2 separate regions of the Homo sapiens genome follow, and region 1 is linked to region 2. Evidence: promoter capture Hi-C in 16 types of primary human blood cells and fetal thymus (Javierre and others, 2016). All regions are on one chromosome and are shown on one strand. The core of a region is centred on a gene start or on the middle of the fragment in contact, and the rest is flanking DNA. Distances in the headings are between cores, read along the strand shown.

Region 1 (4,746 bases), core at 884-3,383, 100 kb before region 2:
TAGGGAAGGTAGTTAAGGAGAGGATGGATATTTTGAGCCTCAGTCAGTATATGATATAGTTTGTCCGAGTCAGAGTTCAAGGGAAGCTTGTTACTAGGGCACTCAGAATGGGTTATCGTGATTGGAGAAGAGGGCATATTTATTCTGTGGCTTGGTACTTGGAATTTTTTTTTTTTTTTTAGTGTAGAGATAGGGTCTCACTGTGTTGCGCAGGCCAGTCTTGAATTCCTGGCCTCAAGTGATCCTGCTGAGGTTATAGGCATGAGCCACCTCTCCCAGCCTACATGGAACTCTTATTGGTGGAGGAACATGGCTTAGCCAGGGAGATGAGGTTTTTAGATACAAAAGCCAAAGCGTCCTCATTTGCAGTGTCAGGAACTGGGAACAGTGAAAACTTGGAACTTTCCCAAGGTGTGGGGCAGGAATGGGACAGCTTTTACATTAGAACAGGGTTTCTCAGCCTTGGCACTATTGATAACGTGGGCCAGATAATATCTTCGTTGTGGGGGGCGCTGTCCTGTTTGTTGAAGGACGCCTAGCAGCATCTTTGGCTTCTGCTTACTAGATGCCAGTAGCACATACCTTCAGAGATTACTAAATGTCCCCTACGGGGCAGAATTGCCCCTGATGAGAACCTCTGTATTAGAGTGTGGTGGGTAATCCAGAGATGTGTAGAGTTAAGAAATATCCTTCATGATGTTCACAATTACAAAGCTAAAATGTAGTGGTGTGATTTTTACTCTAGAATTTGCCTTTGCTGTTTAGTCAAGATAAACATTTGAAATCTCTCTCACCCCCCAACCCCATTTGTGAGATTTTGATGTACTACATGAGAAGAATGAACCCAAGAGCTGCAGGGACCACTGCAGTATCCAGCTGGAGGGTGTTAATGTGTCTTGTTGTCCTGGGGGGTAGCCTCAGAGGCTGGAGGGTTAGAATTGGTCAGGGAGGACACCTGTAACAGTGTTGCAATATATAATATTTATTTCAACACTTTGTGCATTGTCAGCCTTTTTCTTTTTTTTTTTTGAGATGGAGTCTCGCTCTGTCGCCCAGACTGGAGTGCAGTGACGCGATCTCGGCTCACTGCAACCTCCACCTCCCGGGTTCACGCCATTCTCCTGCCTCAGCCTCCCGAGTAGGTAGGACTACAGGTGCCCGCCACCACGCCTGGCTAATTTTTTCTATTTTTAGTAGAGACAGGGTTTCACCGTGTTAGCCAGGATGGTCTCGATCTCTTGACCTCGTGATCCGCTCACCTCGGCCTCCCAAAGTGCTGGGATTACACGAGCCACTGCTCTTGGTGTTGTCAGCCTTTTTCTATTAAACCATGTCACAGGCCCACAGAGTAGCAGCTCTTTGATTGGAACTGGGAGAAAAGCAACCTATTCGGCCCTGTGGGGAGGGCTTTATTGCTTCAAGCTTATAGGGCAATGTCCCTTACTCTTATAAATGAAACATAGGAGCTCTTAAAAGATCCATTTATGTATAGCTGGGACTGGGCTGGGTGCTTGAATGAATGTACTTCCTGGTATGAGAGTCATCTGCTACTCTAGGGGTTGGGCACTGGCTGATTTCTTTTCTCATTTGGTGAAAATCCTATTAGTTCAAAGGGAGATGCTCTCCTTTGCTTTACTGTTCTTACTAGCTCTGGATGGGAGGACAGAGTTTACCTTTAGGGTTTATTGTGAAAAGCATCTTGAGTAGGAAGGTTAAAATGAAATAAACCTAGGTTCATTGTTGAGAGGAGGTGTTCACATGTTTTTCGTATTCCCATACTGTGACATAATTAATTCCCATATTTAAGTGACATCTGAAATCAGGAGTCAAATTGTATATAAGGAAGTCTGGCTGGATCATCCCTAGTTTTAAATTATATTTATTTTATATGTAGACCGTTTAGACCTGATTATCTTTTTTTTTTGGAGATAGAGTGTTGCTCTGTCACCCAGGCTAGAGTGCAATGGTGCGATCTCAGCTCACTGCAACCTCCATCTCCTGGATTCAAGCAATTCTCCTGCCTCAGCCTCCTGAGTAGCTGGGATTACAGGTGCCCGCCACCACGCCCAGCTAATTTTTTGTAATTTTAATAGAGATGGGGTTTCGCCATGTTGGCCAGGCTGGTTTCGAACTCTTGACTTCAGGTGATCCACCCACCTTGGCCTCCCAAAGTGCTGGGATTACAGGCGTGAACCACTGCGCCTGGCCAGGCCTGATTATCTTTTTGAAAACTACACAGTCTTTTACTGTTTGTCTAATAATAGTAGCTAATGTAGTCCTGGTAAGGTGGCTCACGCCTGTAATCCCAGCACTTTGGGAGGTCAAGGTGGGAGAATTGCTTGAGGCCAGGAATTTGAGACCATCATGGGCAACATAGCGAGACCCTGTGTCTACAAAAAAATTTAAAAATTAGCCAGGTGTGGTGGTGAGCACCTGTAGTCCTAGCTACTTGGGAAGCTGAGGCAGGAGGATTACTGGAGCCCAGGAGTTCCAGGCTGCAGTGAGCTATGATCATGCCACTGCACACCACTCTGGATGACAGAGTGAGACTCTGTCTCAAGAAGAAAAAAAAAAAACTAACGTTTATGGAGTGCTTGCTGGATGACAGACACTGTGCTGGGGCTCTAATTTAGATTTTCTCATTTCATCCTCACCAGTCCTTAAAAGTGGGTACAAAAATTGTTACAGATGATGAAACTTAGGCCCAGCAAGTATAAGTAACTTGTCCAAGGTTAAACAGCTAGCTAGTAAATAGTAGAGTTGGGATTTGAACCTAGAGCCCACTACATTGTGCTGACCACATTGCATAGCACAAAGACAATTTTATGTGTCTAGGAAGCTTCTCGTAAATGAAGTGGTTGTGGTTCTGATGACAGTTCAGAAGAGACAGGTGGAGAAACTGATCTCACATACTAAATAACTTCCCATTCTTTTTAATTCTCTGATTTCTGTGAGCCATCGACATGTTGTTATTAATATTTACAAAAACAGGATATGCTGTGCTTTTCCAGAGCAGCAGAGAGGAGGTCACAACTTTGTTCTTGGATTCAAATAGAGAATGGAAAAATGAACCGTGACCCATCATTGAGGAGGATATAGTCCACTGCACATAGGATGGAAGTTGCATGTATCCTCCACACCAGGGGAGGTGTACAAAAAACTGGGGAGAGGAGAGGTGAGGATCAGATGAAATTGGCCCTCTAGGCATAGTATTTCCAGGACTTCTGAAGTGAAGAGTGTCCTCCTTGCTCTGTGGTATAAGCTTTGGAAGGAACCTAACTGGAGACTAAGGAATGAACTTTCCTTTAATTCTTGCACTTAAGAAGGATTATTAATCTCATGATGCTTATCTTTCAGACCCCCTACTGCTGAGGAGTAGCTGTTAACTATACTAGGGAAATCCTGACTGGGCGCAGTGGCTCATGGCTGTAATCCCAGCACATTGGGAGGCCGCGGTGGGTCGATCACTTGAGGTCAGGAATTCAAGACCAGCCTGGCCAACATGGTGTAACCCCGTCTCTACTAAAAAGATAAAAAATTATCTGGGCGTGTTGGCGGGTGCCTGTAATCCCAGCTGCTGGGGAGGCTGAGGCAGGAGAATCGCTTGAACCTGGGAGGTGGAGGTTGCAGTGAGCCGAGATCACACCCTTGCACCCCAGCATGGGCAACAAGAGGGAAACTCTGTCTCAAAAAAAAAAAAAGGAAATCCTGGAGGACCCTGTGTGTTTTGTTTGTTTGTTTGTTTTGTTTTGTTTTGTTTTTTTGAGACAGGGTTTCGCTCTGTCACCCAGGCTGGAATGCAGTGGCATGATCTTGGCTCACTGCAATCTCTGCTTCCCAGGCTCAAACAATCCTCCTGCCTCAGCCTCCCAAGTGGCTGGGACTGCAGCTGCTCACCATCATGCCTGGCTAACCTGGGGTCTTTTCACTATAAAGACTCCATTTTTTCACTGATGCATGGCAGGTTTAGGTCTGCTACTTAATTTAGAGCAAGCTTGTCCAGCCCACCCAGGACAACTTTGAATCTGGCCCAATACCAATTTGTAAACTTTCTTAAAAGATAACATGGAGATTTTCTTGTGATTTTTTTTTTTTTTTTAAAGCTCATCAGCTCTCATTAGTGTATTTTATGTGTGGCCCAAGACACTTCTTCCAGTGTGGTCCAGGGAAGCCAAAAGATTGGACACCCCTATTTAGACTAAAGATGAGATATCCTATATGGGAGATAAGTAAGTCCTAAAAACTTTTTCCCTTAAATCAACAAATGCACATTGCTTTTAGTTTTTAGAGATGGGGTCTTGCTATGGTGCATAGGCTGGACTTGCACTTTTGGGCTCAAGTAATCTTCCTGCCTCATCCTCCTGAGCAACTGAGACTACAGGCAGGAACCACCATGCTCAGCTAACTTTTTTATTTTTTGTGGAGACAGAGCCTTGCTATGTTTCCCAAGCTGGTCTTGATCTCCTGACCTCAAGTGATCTTCCTGCTTCAGCCTCCTGGAGCACTAGGATTACAGGCATGAGCCACCATGCTTGGCCTATTTTTATTTTTAAAATTTCAGTTAAAATTGATTAAGATACAGACAATTCCCACATACTATGCAGGGTTTATATATCATGCTCAGACTTATGTTATATTCACATTTATACTAATGGTGTCTAATTTTAGTAATGTAGCATATTTATGAATGTAACTCTTGCAGACTTTGGCCAGTGGGCATATATATTCTTTTCTTTTCTTTTTTTT
Region 2 (5,161 bases), core at 421-2,920:
TTTTTAAAGTAAATTTTATTGTGTATATTTAAGGTATACAACATGTTACGGGATACATATAGATAGTAGAAAGGTTACTATAGTGAAGTAAATTAATCATCCCACATAATTGTCCCTTTTGTTTCTTTTTGTGGCAAGAGGAGCTAAAGTCTGCTCATTTAGCATGAATCCCATATACAGTACAACTTTATCATCTATAGTCCTCATGTTGTACATTGGATCTCAGGATTTGTTCATCCTACATATCTACTACTTTGTATCCTCTGACCTATAGCTCCCCATTTCCTCTCCCCTCTACCCATATTTCTTCAGGATATAAACAAAATGAGTACCACACAGACTAAGCCCATAAATCAACATTAAGTGTTTTGGGTCTAAACATTTACCCACTGCATTGATCAGACACTTGTGTTTAAATCCACCTCTAATGGTCTCATTAGGTACATGAGAAAGCAGCAGGAATCGTTCCTCACCCTCCAACATTCCATTAGATGAGCAAAAGATTCCCTAAATGTCTATGTCACATTTTTTCTTCAAAGAACAGCTACAACACAAAGAGAGGGTAAAGAGTCTTCTTCCTGCTACAGCATGAAATTCCTCCTAATCAGTATGCTGTGCGCCCTGAAATGCCAGAAACTGCCAAATATATTCCTTGTCAAATATGGACAAGATTGTCCATCTCTCCCCATGTGCCCAAGGACAGCACAATTCTCTGGCAGCCATGGGTTAATCATAAAGACTCCTAGGATCACTGCAAAGTCTGGCTATCTGCAGAGGTCCAAGTATCAGTTCAAATACAAGATCCAAAGTATCACAGCGCTCTGTGCCTTAATCCCAAGGTGCGATGTCTCTCAAGACTCCTTCTCTATAGGCTGGGTGGGGTAGGATCTGTAGTCTAGAAGAGTATACCCAGCTCTTGATAAACTGTTGTGGTTTCTCTGACTATCTATGATTTCAGCTATCTAATACTACTGGTGGTATGGGTAGGAGGGAAGGTTGGGGAGAGAATGGAAACAGTTAATCAAAAAATAAAATAATCTTGTGGGGTGGGGTGGACTGGGGGACAGGGTCTGAAATGACATATTATCCTTGTGGAGATTGATACATCAGCAGGAAGTCAAACTAACTTCATTTCATAAGGATACAAACTTGCAAGCTTGATTTGTTTTTAATTCCCCTGTCTTTTCAGGCCTCGCAGAGACTGAAAGTTCCCTGAACTCCAGAACCAGTTGAGGAAAGATGCAGAAAGCAGTAGTGGAAAAGGGAGAAGCGCGGTGAGGAATTAGGAATCTTGAGAGAGGAAGCCCCTTCCCCTCTTTAAAAAGAATGTAAAAACCAAGGGCATTGCAAGATCCCCAGAAAAAGAAGTAGCTAGATACCAAAAAAGCGCTTTTCCCTACCTTCTTGTTGTTTCTATTGTAGCCAAAAGTCGAAATCCCGGGCCTGGAAGTCACGGATAGCAGCATTTTCTCTTTAATGTTAGGGAACGAGCGAGAGAGAGAGAGAGAGAGAAAGGGAGGGGGTAAGAAAGACGGGGAGGGAGGGAGGAGGGGAGCGAGGGAAAGGGGGAGAGGGAGGGAGGAAAAAAGGGAGGGGGAGGAGAAAGGAGGAGAAAAGGAGCAGGAGGAGAGAGATGAAGGGGGGCTGCGGGCAGAGAATGAGCTCGGGCTGCTCCTTTACGTCACTGAGAGAAGTTAACAGAGTCTGAATGAGGCAGAGGCACTTCCACTGGGTCCTAATGCCCAAGATGTTTTTTTTTGTTTGTTTTTCATAGTCTCAGGAGTTAAAGCTAGAAAGAAGAGTTCTTAGGTCTAACCCCTTTCAAATTTATCCCCTTTCCTCTATGAACAAGTTCCGATTCTCATATAAAGACAATGAGGGCTTTATTTCCACCCTTAGATCTCAGCTATAAGATTTCAAGCTTGATTTTAAAGGGGCTCCTGAGACATTGCCTTGGAGAACACGCAAAAAAAAAAAAAAAAAAAAACAGAGTTAGAGTGTGTGAGATAAGCTCAGGGCTTCCCCTACTTTACACTTACAGTGATTTTTTTTTTTTTTTTTTGAGACAGAGTTTTAGTCTGTCACCCAGGCTGAAGTGCAGTGGTGCAATCCCGGATCCGGCTCACTGCAACCTCCACCTTCCGCAATTCTCCTGCCTCAGCCTCTCGAGTAGCTGGGATTACAGGTGACCACCACCACACCCAGCTGATTTTTGTATTTTTTAGTAGGGACGGGGTTTCGCCATCTTGGCCAGGCTGGTCTCGAACTCCTGACCTCAAGTGATCCACCCACTCAACCTCCCAAAGTGCTGGGATTACAGGCATGAGCCACCACCCCTGGCCCATTTATAGTGATCTTAATGTACAAAGGAACAAACAGAGGAACACACCAAAGAGCAGAGCTAAGCAAAACAGAGTATGGGGTATAACTAGTTTCAGATCCTTAGATGTGTTTCTCTTGGGTCATACCAATGGGCTGATGCCCCTCACTCCTATTTCAGATTCTCCGAGGAATGAGTTCATACTTAAGAAGGAATTATCAGACTGGACTATATCATGAAACTTGGTGCCTTGTTATTTCTCTAACAATTGCAGGCTATCTTATTTAACACTTTACCCTGCTATTTCCTCATCTTTAAGATCCATGAAACTGAAACAATTACAGTAACTCACCAAACCTGGAGTTTATGTCTAAATTGAAGTCTACAGTTGGGATGTCTGCTTTGAGTTGTCTTTGAGCTGTTTAAAAAAAAAAAATACTTAAGAAGCATATGCTTCAACAGAATAAAAACACAAAATTCTTAGGAAGGAATACAAATTTCAGAGTCAAGAACCTAATAGAGTTGCAACACTTACCTCTACTAGTTTCCAAAGAATGTCTTTGTAGGCGTAACCTTAACAAGAAAGGAAACCAAAAACTTAAGAATGATATCCAGTAACCCCTACCAATCCAAGTGCAATAGGGATGTTAAATGAAAGCCTTCAAATCCCTTCATAAGGCCACCTTGCTGCCATCCTAAGTAGTTTCTTGAGATATAAATTAACCCTGTCTGTTTTGTGACAACAAATATTAAGCCCAAACCCTCCCTCAAATGAAGTTCTGGTCTCTATTCTAGTTTCCGTGTCACTTTTTTGCTATGATAATGGAACAGACAGTATTAGTATTCTGCAGAGTAAATATACATACCCTACCCCCAATCTCTAACTTTCATTTCCAATAGGACAGGAAGTGCCTGCTCAGCTCAGGGGACACAGGAAGGGTGGGAGAGCCTCAGTGTGGGAATTGCAACTGAGACTGGAAACACAGCAGCCAAATGCAGTAAATAAATAAATGAAGGCATCACTCAGTGATATCTTTTTTTTTTTCTGAGACAGAGTCTTGCTCTGTTGCCCAGGCTAGAGTGCAGTGGTGCTATCTTGGCTCACCGCAACCTCTGCGTCCCGGGTTCAAGCGATTCTCCTGCCTCAGCCTCCCGAGTAGCTGAGACTATAGGCATGCGCCACCATGCCCGGCTAATTTTTTTGTATTTTTAGTAGTCTTGTTGGCCAGACTGGTCTCAAACTCCCGACCTCAGGTGATCTGCCCGCCTTGGCCTCCCAAAGTGCTGGGATTACAGGAGTGAGCCACCGCGCCCGGCCCATATATATATATATATATATTTTTTTAAGTCCTTTTTCTGCTCTCAGAGACTCTCATTAACCAATTTATCCTTGCTGTTTAGGCCCTTGGATGATATCTTCTCCTTTACCCTAACAATGTGGTACAGAAACCTTTCTCTTGAAGGCCTGATTCATAAAGGCAATCAACCCAATTTAACTTTTTTTTTAAGTCTAATTTTTCTTTCTACTTTTTTTTTTTCCCCCTGAGACAGAGTCTCACTCTGTCGCCAGGCTGGAGTGCAGTGGTGCAATCTTGGCTCACTGAAACCTCTGCCTCCCGGGTTCAAACGATTCTCCCGCCTTAGCCTCCTGAGTAGCTGGTACTACAGGCATGTGCCACGACGCCCAGCTAATTTTTGTATTTTTAGTGGAGACGGGGTTTCACCATGTTGGCCAGTCTGGTCTCGAACTCCTGACCTCAGGCAATCCACCCGCCTTGGCCTCCCAAAGTGCTGGGATTACAGGTGTGAACCACGGCACCCGACCGAAAAATCTAAATTTTTATAATCTGGTAAATTAGGACCACAGAAGTAAAATGACCCGGATATGCAAACTGATGCCAAAGGTGTATTATGTTAAAGAGCACCAACAAAACTGGAAACTAAATCCTTCATTCTGGTGAGTATATGTATTATAAACATATATTTTTTTTTATGACAGGGTCTCACTCTGTCACCTAGGCTGGAGTGCAGTAGCACAATCACGGCTCACAACAGGCAGCTTTGACTTCCCCAGGTTCAGGTGATCCTCACACCCATCCCACCCCTCCCCACCCTGTAGCTGGGACTACAGGCATGCACCACCACACCTGGCTAACTTTTGTAATTTTTTTTTTTTTGGTAGAGACGGGGTTTCATCATGTTGCCCAGGCTGGTCTTGAATTCCTCAGCTCAAGCAATTTGCCCACCTCAGTCTCCAAAACTGCTGGCATTACAGGTGAGTATATTTGTAAAGGAGTTATGGAATTCTGTGGAAATGATGGGGAAGGTAATGGTGTTCTGTGGTTAGATTCAGGAAGTATACGGGAGGAGGAAGAATCCTACTTCCTCCAGTGTATTTACTTTGACGCCCTTCTGCTTTGCCCATTACATTGCCCACATTTTTCCAGATTTAGTCAATGCCTCTCTAATTCTTGGTTCTCATGAACCCAGCACTCAGGAATTGTTTTGAAGGGAAAAAAGCAAAATGAGAGTTATCTGTAACTTCTTTGGGGAAGAGACATTTGTACCTGATTCAATATAGGCTTGTTTGTGATTTCTCCAGAAAAACAACTCTTTTAAACAAGTGTCCAAGGTGAAGGAGTAGGGGCTAGGTCAACCCCAAAATGTAGCTGAAAAATGTCCCAGCACTTTGGGAGGCTGAGGTGGGCAGATTGCTTCAGTCCAGGAGTTCAAGACCAATGTGGGCAACATGGCAAAACCCCATTTCTGCTAAAAATACAAAAAACTAGCCAGGCATGGTAGTGCATATCTGTAGTCCCAACTCCTCAGGAGGCTGAGTTG

What was found. The method cuts DNA at HindIII sites, captures the fragments that hold promoters and counts their contacts. A CHiCAGO score of 5 or more calls a contact.
Region 1: a contact is called between a fragment that was not itself captured here and the fragment with the promoter of RBMS2 in region 2, in 1 of 17 cell types (endothelial precursors). The highest score is 7.5, in endothelial precursors.

What each region holds. Positions count from the first base shown.
Region 1 is chr12:56,619,519-56,624,264 of GRCh38, reverse strand. All of the region lies in intron 1 of BAZ2A (bromodomain adjacent to zinc finger domain 2A), which reads left to right. Among named protein-coding and RNA genes, the nearest start is that of BAZ2A, 8.4 kb to the left of the region's middle. The HindIII fragment of the contact is 1,417 bases long and covers 1,425-2,841 here.
Region 2 is chr12:56,518,329-56,523,489 of GRCh38, reverse strand. RBMS2 (RNA binding motif single stranded interacting protein 2) reads right to left here and starts at 1,670. Exons shown (of 14, transcript NM_002898.4): 1 at 1,401-1,670. The coding sequence starts at 1,466. RefSeq lists an enhancer at 492-1,235. The HindIII fragment of the contact is 765 bases long and covers 1,159-1,923 here.